Linked DNA regions of Homo sapiens: region 1 is linked to region 2. Evidence: promoter capture Hi-C in 16 types of primary human blood cells and fetal thymus (Javierre and others, 2016). All regions are on one chromosome and are shown on one strand. The core of a region is centred on a gene start or on the middle of the fragment in contact, and the rest is flanking DNA. Distances in the headings are between cores, read along the strand shown. Region 1 overlaps LOC105369322 (a long non-coding RNA gene). Region 2 holds the start of TMEM109 (transmembrane protein 109).

What was found. The method cuts DNA at HindIII sites, captures the fragments that hold promoters and counts their contacts. A CHiCAGO score of 5 or more calls a contact.
Region 1: a contact is called between a fragment that was not itself captured here and the fragment with the promoter of TMEM109 in region 2, in 1 of 17 cell types (fetal thymus). The highest score is 5.3, in fetal thymus.

Annotation. Positions count from the first base shown.
Region 1 is chr11:60,826,646-60,829,345 of GRCh38, forward strand. All of the region lies in intron 2 of LOC105369322 (a long non-coding RNA gene), which reads right to left. Among named protein-coding and RNA genes, the nearest start is that of CCDC86, 14 kb to the right of the region's middle. The HindIII fragment of the contact is 474 bases long and covers 1,115-1,588 here.
Region 2 is chr11:60,912,789-60,915,488 of GRCh38, forward strand. TMEM109 (transmembrane protein 109) reads left to right here and starts at 1,370. Exons shown (of 4, transcript NM_024092.3): 1 at 1,370-1,480. It overlaps TMEM109-DT (TMEM109 divergent transcript), which reads right to left and starts at 1,275. Exons shown (of 2, transcript NR_186356.1): 1 at 1,172-1,275; 2 at 378-689. RefSeq lists enhancers at 1-607, 1,606-2,604, 1,999-2,168 and a silencer at 1,659-1,818. The HindIII fragment of the contact is 3,992 bases long and covers 1-2,629 here.

The DNA of each region.
Region 1 (2,700 bases), core at 102-2,601, 86 kb before region 2:
CCACTGCACTCCAGCCTGGGTAACAGAGTGAGCCCCTGTTTCTTAAAAAAAATAATAATCATTTGCTTGGAGGAAGATATTCCAGCTGCTTGCCTCCTACCAAGGACGTTCCCCTGTAAGAGCATAGAGGTCAAGGGTGCATTAGGAGGACTGCCAGCATAATAATACCTAAGATTTATCAGTGAGTCCTGCCTTCTGGCTGTGGCCATTGAGGTCACATCTTTTCAAAGACATGTGATTATGTCATGAGATTGCTACCAGGGACCTGGACGTGGCAAAAATGGGGCTGGGAATACTGGGGGAGGAGTTTCCTCTGCTCTCATCCTAGGGAAAGAGAGGAAAGGAGAAACACTCTCTTCAGGTGGGTCTGACACACCATGCAGGGGCGAGGGACACACTGCCCACTGCTGCCCACACTTTGACCACTTCAGTGACCCAGCTGCCCCAGAATCCCCGACCTTCCCCTGTAGCCTGGGGTCCCTGAACGGCCCCAAGACTCAACTTCCTGCCCGTGACCTCACGTGAAACTGATCTTCACCCAGCCCCTCTCTGTGCTTTCCTTATCAGTAGAGGACAAATCATTCCTCCTAGGCCCCCACGACCCTAGTCCACTGTGTTCACCTTCCCTAGCTGCTCTCTCCTCCATCCATGCCTCTCCCTCTCCTCTGGTCCAGAAACTCAAGTCCCGGAGACCCCGTGTCCCTCTCTGACTGTGGTCTCCCCTCTCTTCCCTTTCACAGCAACAATCTCCTACGGACTCCATCTCCTCCTCTCCCGTCTCTACAGACCTCAAGCCCTCTCAGGGCAGCCGCCAGTAGCTTACTGCCAAATACATGCTTTTCCATGTATTTTCTTACTTGACCTTTCTGTACTTTTTTGCTGATGGGTGTCAGTCTGAATGGTTGACCACATGGGTCTTGGAATTGGATGGGTCTGAATCCCAGCTTTCACATACCAGCTGTGTGGCTTTGGACAAGTACCTCAATTTTTCTGAACCTCTGTTTCATCCTCTGTGAAATGGGGCTAATCAGAGTAGCTATCTAATAAGGCAACTAAGATTAAAATAAGCACGTAACAGGTGCTCACTAGATGACAGGTCACTCCCCTTCTAGAAAGCTTCCCTTCTTTTATCCATCTCCTTGGTCAGAATCTGCAGACTGATTCCGGGACTGGCTGGCCTGTAAAACTGCCCAGTTTTTGCAGGCTTTGCACCCTGGTTTTGCAGGTGCCCTGGAAGAGTCTCTCGGTGCTGCTGCTGTTCTTCACCATCCTGGCACTAGGCATCGCCTTCTTGTCTACCTTCCTGGGCTTCCATGCCACCTTCTGCTACACCCAGCTGGTGAGTGGGTTGGCAAGGTCTCTGCAGGACAGGCAGGCCCTCACTCGATCCCCAGAGCCTGGACAGGGGAGCCGAGGGAGGAGGGACAACAAGAGGGCTGTGTGGGGAGTGGCAGGCAGAACCCCTCCTGCCATCCTAAACCATCTGTACCATGGCCGTGCTGAGCCCCACTTGGTCTACACTGGGGAGATGCTGTCTTGAAGGACATGTGAGAACAGGGAGGTGGCTAGGGAAGAAGATGTTTACAAAAGCTTATAGCTCAGCACCAAGGTAGAACTGACTAGGACAAGTGCCGCATGGTGCCGCCAGATTCTGGTGGTGGCAGCCGATGCTGCAGGAAGGAAGGGCAGCGGTGAGGCTTCTGGATCCTGGCTGACAACTATAGCCTTACATGCGCTGGGAGACGGTGGTTACAGCAGCTCCCTCCATCAAGGGGCTTCCACAAGCTCCTTCCCCCGACCCTCATGACAGGCCTGAAGGGGCAGGGAAGAGACTGACCACGTGTCACAGATGAGGAAACTGAGGCCCAGAGAACTAAGGTGACCTGGCTGAGATCACATCCATCCCCAGAATCCAGGTACGACTCCCGGGCAACCTTCTCCTCAGGGAAGACCAGAGCTACAAGAAGGACTCAGCCCAAAGCACAAGGTCTGGGGGCTCAGGCTACCACCACGTGGTCTGTGGAGGGCTGTGGGCAGAGAGGAAAGCCTGGATCGCCAGAGAAAGCACAGAAGGAAAACCTAAAAGGATCACAGGGTCACATGGGCTGCTTCTGGGCTGACTAAAGGCGAGTGGCCTTGGCCCTTCCTTCTTCTCCCGACTCCAGTACCTGAACCCAGCTCAGGAACTTCCCACGGCCACAGCAGCCACTCCCAGGATCCACCCACCAGGCCCCACAGCCCCCAGCCACAGCCTGCACTCAAGGCATCTGCTGATCCTGGGAGCTGAGCTCCTCCCAGCATCTGACCTCTGGGGCTCTGCGATCTTCCCCTTCTCCTGGCTGCAGGGTTGGCCTTCCCTTTGTAACACCCAGCCCCAGAGGTCACTACCCCCATCCTCATACACACCCCAGCATGGAGATGGGTCTGCTCTTTCTGTCTAAGAAACATCCCTCAATGTCGCTGTTTTGCTGTCAACAAAAAGTTGACATGTGGCTTGGGTCACATCCACCAGGATTTAGTGACTAAAGTTGCATATCTTGTCCGTGTGTGTGCACAGCAGGGACCCTAGGTGTCTCACGTCTGTATGTGTGGATGGACAAGTATCCACCTGTTCCCCCACTTAATGGATTTGTTACTGGAAACCCTGCTGCTAAGTGAGAAGCTGTTAAATAAAAATATTTTCATGAATGCGGCCAGGCA
Region 2 (2,700 bases), core at 120-2,619:
CGTTTTTCAGCACCAGTGGGATCACACTCCACTCACTCAAGATTCACCGCGTTCCACCCCTCATAGGAGGGAGCGTGCAGGTGAGTGGGTGCAGGAGCCAGAGCGTGCGCTTTTGGACACCGGCAGGAGCGAACTCCGTGCAGGCCCCGGGGCAGTGTCCAGGCAGAGTGCCTGAGGCTCCTGAAGCCCCAGAGGGCATGTTACAGTGTTCTTTTGGCTCTGTCGTCCGTGGACAGCTTAAGTGTTAACAGCTCCGTGGGCCCGCGGTTGCCCTCCACCAGCAAGGGCAGAGGGCCAGCGTGACAGCTTTTGTATCCGCACTCGTGGCTCCCGAGCTCTTGTCCAGCGTCCAAGAAAAATAAAGCTGCACGAACAAATTAAAGGACAAATGCCTGGGATTTTATTGCTGATCAAAGTGGATTTCAGAGGGAAGGTGAGCTGAAAAGAGGGGGGTGGGACAGGCCGGTATGTAGTCTTCCCTTGAAGTCCAGCTATCTCCAGCCAGATTCGTCTCAGAAGTTACGCCTTAAGCTGTCCCTCTGAAGACAAGCTGCTTCTCTCTGACATCCAGCCATGGTCGTCCCCTCATCCAGCTGCTTCTCCTCTCTGCCAGATGAGTCTGGGGTCTTTCTAGGCACAGGATGAGGCAGGGCAGAGCCATGGGTGGCTTAGGAAAAGGCAACATTCAACTGGAAAAACATGGATAGAAGTTCTCACTTTGGGCCATGGTTTCAGGCTTTTTGGCTTGAGGGTGGGGTTTCACCAGGGACCCGCTCTTTTCTACCTAGCATTTATCTGCCTCCTGTCCCTATGCACTGCCTTTGTGGCAGAAAAAGGAGAGTGAGAGTTGGTTCCTCTCTTTCTCTGAAATTCTGAGCTAACATTTGGGAGCCGTCTACAGTATTCAGGTATGAATTTTCTCTCTGGGGGAGCGCATTCGTTTTCCTAGAGCAGTGTGCTTTTAATTGCTCCTTTAATATCTTTCTCTTTTGTGCCTTTTTAGCGCGAAAAGTGTATGGGAAGACTAGGTGCTCGTTAGCGGCTCGGTTAGAACTACATTGCCCACAATGCCCCAGGGAACATTTGTAGCTCTAGAACTACATGACCCAAAATGCCGAGTGGTGGCAAGAGGAGGATTAGCTTCCACTCCGATTTCAAAGATCCAGTTTACCCACTCTACAGCCCAGATATAGTCACTTATTTCCCCTTTCCAGCCAGAGACTTCCGTTCCCTGCTGGAACTTCCGATCCCATTCTTCTCTCGGTGGGAATGCTTGTGGGGGGAAAAAGAAACGCAATAGATAAAGCGGGGCGCATGCGCTCCCGGCACAGGCTTCGATTGTGAGGAAGGCCGGCTAGTCTCCGAGCTCATCCCGCCTTGCGCATGCGGAGAAGGTAAACCAGCGCCCCGAGTTGAGGCGCGGGTTTGGTGGCGCGTTTCAGCGAAGTCGCACGTGAAGGATAGCAGTGGCCTGAGAAAGGTGAGAGCGGGCCGAGGTCGGAATGTGGGGCAGCGCACGGGAAGGGGAGACAGCAGCCGCTGCAGGCGGCACCAGGCGGAGCCGCGAGGCCTGGAGAGTCCGAGTGGGGAGGGGTCCGCGCGCCCAGCGTGCGAAACAAACCGGGGACCCGGATCCCCGTTGCTATGCAACCGGGGGCGTCGTTTCCAGGCAACCCGGGAGGCGCACGTTTCCGGGGAGAAGAGGGTTGCGGCGAGGTTCCGAGGTCCGGCAGAGGTGGAGCGGCTCCCGGGCGTGGGGACCAGGCCAGCGCCAAGCCCGAGCCCCCGAACCCCGACCCACGGCCCAGCCTCCTGCAGCCTCGGCTCGAGCCCTTCGGGGGGCCCCAAACTCATGGGTCGCGCCACGTTCCTTGCCAGCGACGCTACCCCTCAGCGCTTGGCAGGGGACGCGCCGTTCGAAATAGCACATGCCACTGACACCCTGTCTCCGGGAGGCTGCGCCCCGGTTAGGGCGCGGAGCGGCAGGGAAGCTGCCCCTTTGCCGTCGCCCTGCCCCCAAACAGTTGCTGGGCAGCAGCTGTCAGGGGTTTAGTGGGAGCTGCCCCCAACCTGCCAGGGCGCTGACTTCATTCTCTGCAGTGGCGGCTTCGCCTTGTTTAGGACCTTCCTTTAGACTCAGCTGTGCTTCTCGTGTGGCTGCTGTATATTTGGATCTACTATTAAAATAACCTCCCTCCTCACCTCTCCATGGCTTTCTCGTTCGACCCTCACGGTTTCTTGGCAGGTTGCTAATATTCATTTAATAAACATTTATTAGTCATCTTTCCTACTAGGCGCTGGGGATTCCAACATGTCAAGTCTAACCGGGAGTCGCTCGGTCTACTGGGGAAGGCAGGTTGATAAACTGCTAAATTATGCTACGATATATAGTCAGTGGTAATGTGTGTGCTGCAACATTTCTATAGATGTTTAGTTTACAAAGCGCTTGCTGCAGAAATATCTTAACTCCTTACAGCAACTCTTCACCTGGGTTCACTCCCTTTTACGTTTGAGGAGACTGCAACTCAGGCAGGTTAAGTAACAGGCGTAAGGTAGTAGCTTCTAGTCCGTGGCACACTTGAGCCTGGGACGGAAGTCAGGGGTCCTTTGTACACTGCTGCACTTTTGAAGCTTTGCTTAGACTTTTCCCTGAGCTGCTGGCTATGCATCCGAAATTCCTGAGGAGCTTTGCAAAACAAA